Regions from separate parts of the Homo sapiens genome. Here all the other regions are linked to region 2. Evidence: promoter capture Hi-C in 16 types of primary human blood cells and fetal thymus (Javierre and others, 2016). All regions are on one chromosome and are shown on one strand. The core of a region is centred on a gene start or on the middle of the fragment in contact, and the rest is flanking DNA. Distances in the headings are between cores, read along the strand shown.

Evidence for each region. The method cuts DNA at HindIII sites, captures the fragments that hold promoters and counts their contacts. A CHiCAGO score of 5 or more calls a contact.
Region 1: a fragment that was not itself captured here is called in contact with the fragment with the promoter of SRSF6 in region 2 in 2 of 17 cell types (erythroblasts and M0 macrophages); the score reaches 6.6 in erythroblasts.
Region 3: a fragment that was not itself captured here is called in contact with the fragment with the promoter of SRSF6 in region 2 in 1 of 17 cell types (fetal thymus); the score reaches 6.0 in fetal thymus.

Annotation. Positions count from the first base shown.
Region 1 is chr20:41,696,416-41,699,115 of GRCh38, reverse strand. No RefSeq gene overlaps it. Among named protein-coding and RNA genes, the nearest start is that of CHD6, 79 kb to the right of the region's middle. The HindIII fragment of the contact is 500 bases long and covers 1,062-1,561 here.
Region 2 is chr20:43,456,644-43,459,343 of GRCh38, reverse strand. SRSF6 (serine and arginine rich splicing factor 6) reads right to left here and starts at 1,448. Exons shown (of 6, transcript NM_006275.6): 1 at 1,204-1,448; 2 at 835-983. The coding sequence starts at 1,310. RefSeq lists silencers at 662-921, 932-1,031 and enhancers at 1,172-1,271, 703-1,650, 1,572-1,731, 1,792-2,111. The HindIII fragment of the contact is 2,232 bases long and covers 337-2,568 here.
Region 3 is chr20:44,966,778-44,969,493 of GRCh38, reverse strand. The region is part of intron 1 of STK4 (serine/threonine kinase 4); the gene reads right to left. Among named protein-coding and RNA genes, the nearest start is that of STK4, 1.6 kb to the right of the region's middle. RefSeq lists a silencer at 1,098-1,227 and an enhancer at 1,688-1,767. The HindIII fragment of the contact is 2,275 bases long and covers 144-2,418 here.

The sequences.
Region 1 (2,700 bases), core at 62-2,561, 1.8 Mb after region 2:
AGAAGCTATGATGTATTTTAACCTGATCTGAGAAGTGACATACCATAATTTCTCCTGTATTCTGTTTTTGGTGGGGTGTTTTTGTTTTTGTTTGTTTGTTCGAGACAGGGTCTTGCTCTGTCACCCAGGCTGGAGTGCAATGGCATGAACACAGCTCACTGCAGCCTCAACCTCCTGGGCTTAAGCAATTATCCCGCCTCAGCCTCCGTAGTATCTGGGACTACAGACTCACACCACCATGCCTGGCTAGTTTTTGTATTTTTTGTAGAGACGAGGTCTCATTTTGTTGTCCAGGCTGGTCTCTAATTCCTGGGCTCAAGCAATCCTCCTGCCTCGGCCTCCCAAAGTGCTGGGATTATAGGCATAAGCCACTATGCCCGGCCCTGCTTCTCCTGCATTCTGCTGGTGACACAGACCATTACTGCTGCTACATGGGAGGGGACCAGATAGGGTTTGAAAACCAGGAGGCAGGATCATTGGTGGCCCTCTTAGAAACTGCTTACCACAGTCTCCAAGAAGAACCCCCTCTCCCCCAAACTCCACCTAAACTCTGGAACAGGGAGGTGTGCAGATTTCACTGTTTCAAACTACGGAGGCCCACAACAAACAGTGAATTTACTCTGTCCTGGAAACTCATGTTTTAAGCCCAGTAGAACTGCTTTTCCTCAATTATACTTGAGCGTCATGCCATAGGCCTGCATAAAAGGACATTATAAGAAACAGCTCCAATTAAGTCACCGCTGTATTGCATCACTGTTCAGTCAGCTGACCCACGGGAAAAATATCTCTTTGGTCTCAGGGTCAGGAAAAGTTGAGCTTCTCCCAAATATTTGTTTTTCTCACATAAAATCTAGAATTTTATTACCACTCACATTTCCCTCTTTACTTTGGCCATTTGGAAGCTCGGAGCCAAATGTGTAAGCCTTTGCTGGTGTTGATCTTTTTGAGCTAATGTCATCCTGGAGTTATTTCTTCCACTTGTTTTCTATTTTCTCCAGCTACCTCAACTTTTTGTCTTATCCTTTTGTATATTTTGTACTTTTGTAATTCCCCTCAAAGCTTTTGTGGATTGAGATGGAGTTTAAATACACAATAAAATTAGTTTTTGCCCAAAAGACTGATGACCTGCATGTGCCATCTAGTGGTGAGAGAGACAACTGCCAGAATAGAAACCTCCCTGATTTTTCAGATGTGTTTTAGATGGGAGAGTGGTGAGTAGTGGGCAAGGGAAGAGGAGGGAGACCGGGCCCCCTCTGTGTGCTTTGTCAGGAAATTGAAACTGCTGAGGATTAAAGAGCCTCTAGGCAGGGCCAAGGAGCAGGTGATTCAATGGCTGGAAATGAAGATGATTTATCAGAATCTGAAGAAACAATCAAAAAATAGTGAAGAATGAGGAAGGCACTGGAAGTGGAAGGGTTAAGAAAAAAAACTGTTAGTAAAAGTAAACAATGAAAATGGACCTAATTGAAGCAAGTAATCACTTGAAAGGTGCTTAATGTAGGTTGATCACAGATGTGACCAGCCATTTTTTAAACATTCACATTAACTGTAGAAAGAAGCTTAGAGTCCAATGTTTTTATTTTACTTGAGAGAAAACTGGGGCACAGAAGCATTGAGCATCTTGTTCAAGGTCATACAGCCTATGAGCCCCAGGTCCAGGGTAACTCCTAGATCAGTCCTCTTTCCCCAGCACCACCCTACTCCTAACTGTATATAGCAGATGCTCATTTGGGCTTTCATTTTGCACACAGGGTTTCACAAGAAAAATGAGGTCATTACATAAAAATGCTGGATCCAGCATATTTTCAATGAATTATTACTAGCTGGTTTTGTAGCTACCCCCCTGACCTACCCCCAAAATGTCAGGGTGGTGGTTCAAAGCACTGGCTTCGTTAATCTTCACCATGTGGCAAGTCATCAGTTCACAATGATAGAGAAGGATTCCAGAAGCCAATGGCAGTAGGTGAGGGAGCCCCAATCTGGGGAAGAGAAAGTAAATTCACTCATCTACCATGTTAACCTAGCATCTGCTCTGGGCCAAGTTCTAGGCAGTTTGCTGGGGTGGCAATATCAACAATGCACTGGCCATGTCTGGAGCTATACGTATCCCATCTCCCTGTACCCTGACCTGTGTTCTTGGACACAACTTCAGCTAAAACTGAGGCATAGCTTGGATCTGGAGGGCCCTTGAAGACCTAGCCCAGGGATCTGTAGTCTCAAGTTGAATGTCTTGGAAACAGCCTGAAGTCAGGAACCAATGAGGGGGCTGGAGATACTGTCTAAAAAGGAACTTGAGACATTCCCATACTGGAAAGCACAAATATGGAACATTTTACTCATCTGAAAGAGTTCTATTAAACAGCACTGGCCAAGAGTGCCCTTTCCTGGATTTTCTGCTCCTCTGAGTCCTACCAGTTCTCCTAAGCCCTTCAGCAGCTGATATCAGCAGAGACTGATATGAGTCACTGATTCCTGGAAAAGACAGAACTCTGGTACAATGGCTGTTCCAAGTTGATGTCCTCAGAGGTACAAATGACACACCAGAGACAGAAGTTGTTTCTTAAACTTTCCGGGCTTCTGTGCTAGTAACGGGTGCCAGATGGGGCAAAAAGAACAGAAGGAATATTGAGGGGCTCAACCTTTGAGATCAGAAAGACCCAATTTCCTACCGAGGTTCTCCATTACTAGTTGGGTAATCTT
Region 2 (2,700 bases), core at 199-2,698:
TTTTGTCTAACCCTTGGAATCCTCACCATCACCCTGCGTCTAATGGCAAAAGGCTGCTGTCGTCATGGCTTCCGGTAAGGTCAGCCAAAGGGTCATAGGGCAAGGGTCACACAATGTATGGAAAAGCCAAGGCCAATCAGGAAAGGCAGTCATCTTAGCCTCAGTGGACACAGCCTCAGCCCCATTGGTCACTTTCAAATTGAAACATCAAGGACTTGTTAAAAAGTTTGAATTCAACATGCAACAATTTAAACATCAAACATTTAACATAACCAAAAATCCCCCCAACCTCCTCCCAATAACATGCCCCAATTAGTTCAAATACAGCATAAAGCTTATTTAGATCTACTTTGTGGTACAATACCACATTACTTAAAAATAGTACATTCTTTGGCCCCCATCAAGTTCCATAGCTTTAAGACCTATACTTTATGCTCCTCCCCTTCCCCGTCCCCCGCGCCCCCTACCCCACCTCCACCCGAGCCTGCCCCCGAACCTCTAACTAATGCACTGATAGGTAAGTAAGGAGAATACAACAAATACAGCCACCCCTTACTTCCTCTGTGGGAAGAACCCGTGACAGTGCTGACAAGGGGCCAGAAGAAGCCACCCACCTCCCAACTTGGCAAATAAACAAAACCAAACACCCAAACCCAATCCCCGCGCTCCGGCGTCCCATGGCTGCCCCGGGCAGACGTGAAGGCAGCGGGGCTCGGGGACACCCAAGTCAAACGACCCCCGGCCCTCGCGCCTGCCCGGGCTGGGAGGCCCCACCCCACCCACCCCCGCCCCCAGGGTCCCCAAGGGCGCGGAGCGCGCGGGGGTGGGACTCACTGCGGCTTCCGTAGCTGTAGCCGTCGCGATCGCGACGCGGGCCCCGGGCGTGCTCTACGATCACGCGCTCGCCGCAGAGCTCCTTGCCGTTCAGCTCGTAAACGGCGTCGTCGGCGTCGCGGGAGTCCTCGAACTCCACGAAGCCGTACCTAGGGGCGGTGCGAGGGCCGGACAACCGCGGGGGAGTCGTTAGCCAGGACGCGCACGTGCGCGCGCCCGTACCCCACCGCGCGCCCCCGCGACGCCGCGCCGTCGCCATCTTTGAGGCCCTGCCACGCGGCGCCGCGGCCTTGGCCGCTTCTTTCCTTGGAGAGTTCCCGCCGCCACCAGGCCTGGGACGCTGGGCGCGGGCGCCCAGGCCCGACTCACCCATTTTTGAGGTCTACTTCGAGGAGGCGGCCATAGCCACTGAAAAAGCGCTGGATGTCCTTCTCCCGGACGTTGTAGCTCAGGCGTCCTATGTAGACGCGCGGCATGTCCGTGGCGGGCGGGGACCCAAGGGCTGGTTGTCGAACGGCGGACCGCAAGCCAGTAACCGCGGTGCGGGTGCGGGGACGGCAAGAGCCCGAACACGCGCCTCACACCACAGGGGCGGCCGAGTCCAGCCACACAATGGCGCGCGCGCGCGCCAGGCTTTCGCTATATGGGCGGCCGGTGGGGCGGGGCCTGGAGCGTGATGTCAGCGCGCAGCGGCACGTCCGTCCCGCGTCGTCCCTGGGCTAGATGGTGACTGGCGAGTCCGTTGCCCGCGACGTTTCGGTGTAGTGCGGTCTTGCTAGCTTCTAGGATTTTTCTCTAGCCCTCCCCACCGTCTTTGAAAACACAATGTCTCTAATCCAGCCGCAGAACTGCTTTCTAATTTGTACCTTTTATAAAACTGTGCGCGATCTCTTCGGGGTTGAAGCTCGGGAGGCGGGCTGAGCGAATCCCCGTTTTTCATTGGTTCTCGAGGTTATCATAATAGGTCGCCGCGGTCTCTGCTTGGTGGCTTAAAACGAGGCTGCGGATTTCTCCCAGCGATTGGTTGATGCTCGTTTTGATGGGGACCGCGGTCTCGGACCCAGTCGCTTGTCTTGTTTCGCAGAATCTGAGGATCGCGCGCCGAGGTCTTGCTGACCGGGCGGAGGTCGCGTTGCGAGCGCGCAGACCCGCCGACATCAGCCTCTCCGGGTCTCACTCGCAGCCTTCGCCTCCCCGGACGTTCCCCTCTCCCTCCATGGGTCTTTCTTGGAGCCCTGGCAGCTTGACTCACTTGTGGATTGGGCTATCCGTGGCAATCCTACGCTCACTGTAGGTGCTCAAAAGGGAGCGTGGACGAGACCCGGCAGCCCTCCCACAGCGACGAACGATTTTTTTTCTCCCGTGTATGGAAAGTCCTTTGTCCCAATACTATCATTTCCTCCACTGACTTGAAAGTGCCTTATTTTGTGAGTTTATCAATGGAGATGCTATTTAAAGCTGTAGAACCAGATTGAAAACCTCAAAGGAGTAAGTTTAAGTGGAGAGCGGAAGACCCAGGCCAACGCCTGGGGTACTCTGAAATTTAAGCGCAGGAAAGGAGACTGGGAGGAGTGACTAGCGAGGTAGGGAGAAGACCAGGAGAGTAGGTGTCACCGCCGAAGCTAAAAAAAAAAAAAAAAAAAAAAAGGGATATCACTGAGATAACACCAGCTCTTTAGATATTTATGTATTCCTGCTCTGTTTTGAGTGGTGCAACCTCAATATCCTTAAGCTTCGGGTTGAAAAAGGGGGGTTTTGTCCTCCTGGAGCTATTTGGAAGTCTAGAGGGAAACGTTGTTTGTCACGACTGGGGGAGGTAGAGGCCGTGCTTAAAGTTAGATAAATAAAAAATACGAGTCTGTAATC
Region 3 (2,716 bases), core at 32-2,531, 1.5 Mb before region 2:
ACGAACACAAAGGGCATTTCCTGCACTGGGGTTATTGGAAACACATGCCATCTGAATTTCTGAAAAGACACCTGTATCTTTCCAAACACAAGTAATGGTGTCTATGAAGTAGTCACTTACAGGTCTGGCTAATTCTCAAAGCTTTCTCCCATTTCAGAACTCCCATAAAGTTCATTTTATGTGTAACTATTTCTTTTTCCACACAGAATTTGATATGGATTACAACAACTATACATGATAAATGGACAAAATCTTACATAATAAAACTGTGTCCCCAGCTTACCCCAATTCATATGCTGAAGTCCTAATACCCACCACCTAAGAATGTGACTGTATTTGGAGACAAGGCCTTTAAAGAGGTAATTAAGATAAAATGAGGTCATATGGGCATGCCCTAATCCAGTATGACTGGTGTCCTTATAAGAGGAGATTAGGACACTGACAGGTACAGAAGGAAGAACATGGAGACACAGGGAGATGGCCATCTACGAGTCAAGCAAAGGCGTCAAAAGAAACAACTCTGACAATGCCTTGATTTCAGATCTCTAGCCTTCAGAACAGTGAGAGAATAAATTTACGTTGCTTAAACCACCCACTCCATGACACTTTGTCTTGTCCTGATAAACTGATACACGTGATAATAAAATTGATCTGCTTCAAATTAGGCAATCTACTAGTTACAATGAGCTGGGAATCACCAGCCACTTCAGAACCCAGTCCTGCAATGCTCTTCTCTTGTGCTTTTAATACATTTTTTAAAATCCAAAAGGTACAGGAATGAGCATGCCAAGAAACTTTAGTCCTTTGCTCAAGATTATGTAAGACAAGGCAAAGGGGGAAACAAAACTCAGATTCCTAATCCTCTTTTCAATTAAACCAAGGCCTCGGAGAAAGAAACCAAGAAGAACGAACGAACATAGTTCAGAAAGAAACATAACTAGTGTGCATTCATAATTGGATCACTATGGTACTATAGTAAATATCTGCTAACATACACAGAGACCTGTGAAACAGGGGTACTTTTAGAGAGGCATCAGAGTGAGGCAGTTAAGAGCATGGCCGGGCCCGGTGGCTCACGCCTGTAATCCCACCACTTTGAGAAGCCAAGGTGGGCGGATCACGAGGTCAGGAGATAGAGACCATCCTGGCTAACACGGTGAAACCCCGTCTCTACTAAAACTACAAAAAATTAGCCAGGCGTGGTGGCACGCACCTGTGGTCCCAGTTACACAGGAGGCTGAGGCAGGAGAATCGCTTGAACCCAGAAGGCGGAAGTAGCAGTGAGCCGAGATTGCGCCACTGCACTTCAGACTGGGCGACAGAGTGAGACTCCGTCTCAAAAAAAAAAAAAGAACATGGACTTTGGACCAGACCCCATAGACATTAAAATCCTAGCTCTGTCTCTTACTTGCTATGACTTCTCCCAGCAAATCACTACCCTCTGTATCTCAGTTTTATCATCTGTAAAACAGACATATAGGGATATCTACCACACAGGATTGTTGTGAGGTTCAAATGAGTTCAAATGAGGTTTTTATGGTTCAAAAATGGTCAAATATCAGCAATTTCATATGCTTCAGCAGGACACATGGAAAGCACTTAGAACAGTGCCTGGCACCCGGTAAGTGCAATATGAGTGTAATAATCATTACTATTACAGTCTCAGCACACTACGCTAGGGTGAATCCAAAGCCCATCCCAACCACCTATTTGCCTTCTGCAATGTTTGTGCACCTCAAACATCCCCAAGCTCAAACAACCCCTAAGAGTGCTGCCCAGGCAGTCAATCCCTTCTCTTCACCTCTTGGTTGCCCTGCACTTCCACACCCTGAACACTTCCTTCTTTAGAGCTCATTCTGCTGCAGGAAGTCAGACGTCTCTGTGAAATAGAAGTAACCACACTGAACCTCAGAGAAGCATGACTCCTTCGGTCTCTAGTCCCTACTTTTCTCCAGATGTGGTAGAGTGGCAAAAGACCCGGGATGTCCACAAGGGAAATCCAGGAGTTGAGATTTTCTAGGATCAGCCACCATCCTGATCTTGAACTAAAGCAATTCCAGGTACCACTAGGATTTGGTGCTGATATTCACAAAACAACTGAGGCCTGAAAAGGGCACAGACTGGCAGGGTTCAGTGACCCGGAGTAAAGAAGGAAACACTTCCCAACTACTCTGGACCTCAGTCTCCCCATCTCGAAAATATCCTCTTATTTCCTTACCTACCTCCCAATGTCAGGTTCTGAAGAGCTGAGGAGGATGTGAAGACCATTAGGAAGACACTGAACATCAGTAATAAAAGATGCCATCCTACAGTGGGGACACCACCAACAGCATCCTCTGAAATGCTACCCTCCACCATCCCCTCCCTTGCTAGACCCTCAACCTTTCCTCGCATGCTTTCAGCCTTAGGCGCAAAGCTTTTCCCCTCCACAGATCCCCCCACCGCACCCCTCAAGTGGGACTTCAGACCCTTAGAAAGTCCACCCGGCCTTCCTCTTGGCCAGTTCTCGATCCACCCCCTTAAAGAGATCCCTCACAGATTCTCACCCTGCTTCAGCATTCGCCCCCACCTCCGTGAGTCCCTGCTTGGATAGCGTTCCCCCGAGTGGCCCGGCCTCAGCAGGTACTCTCCCTAACTTGTCCCCACGTTCCTCAGCACAGTCTCACCACAGCGAGTGCTCCCTCTAACCGGTCCCAAGTCTAACCTCCTTAGCAGA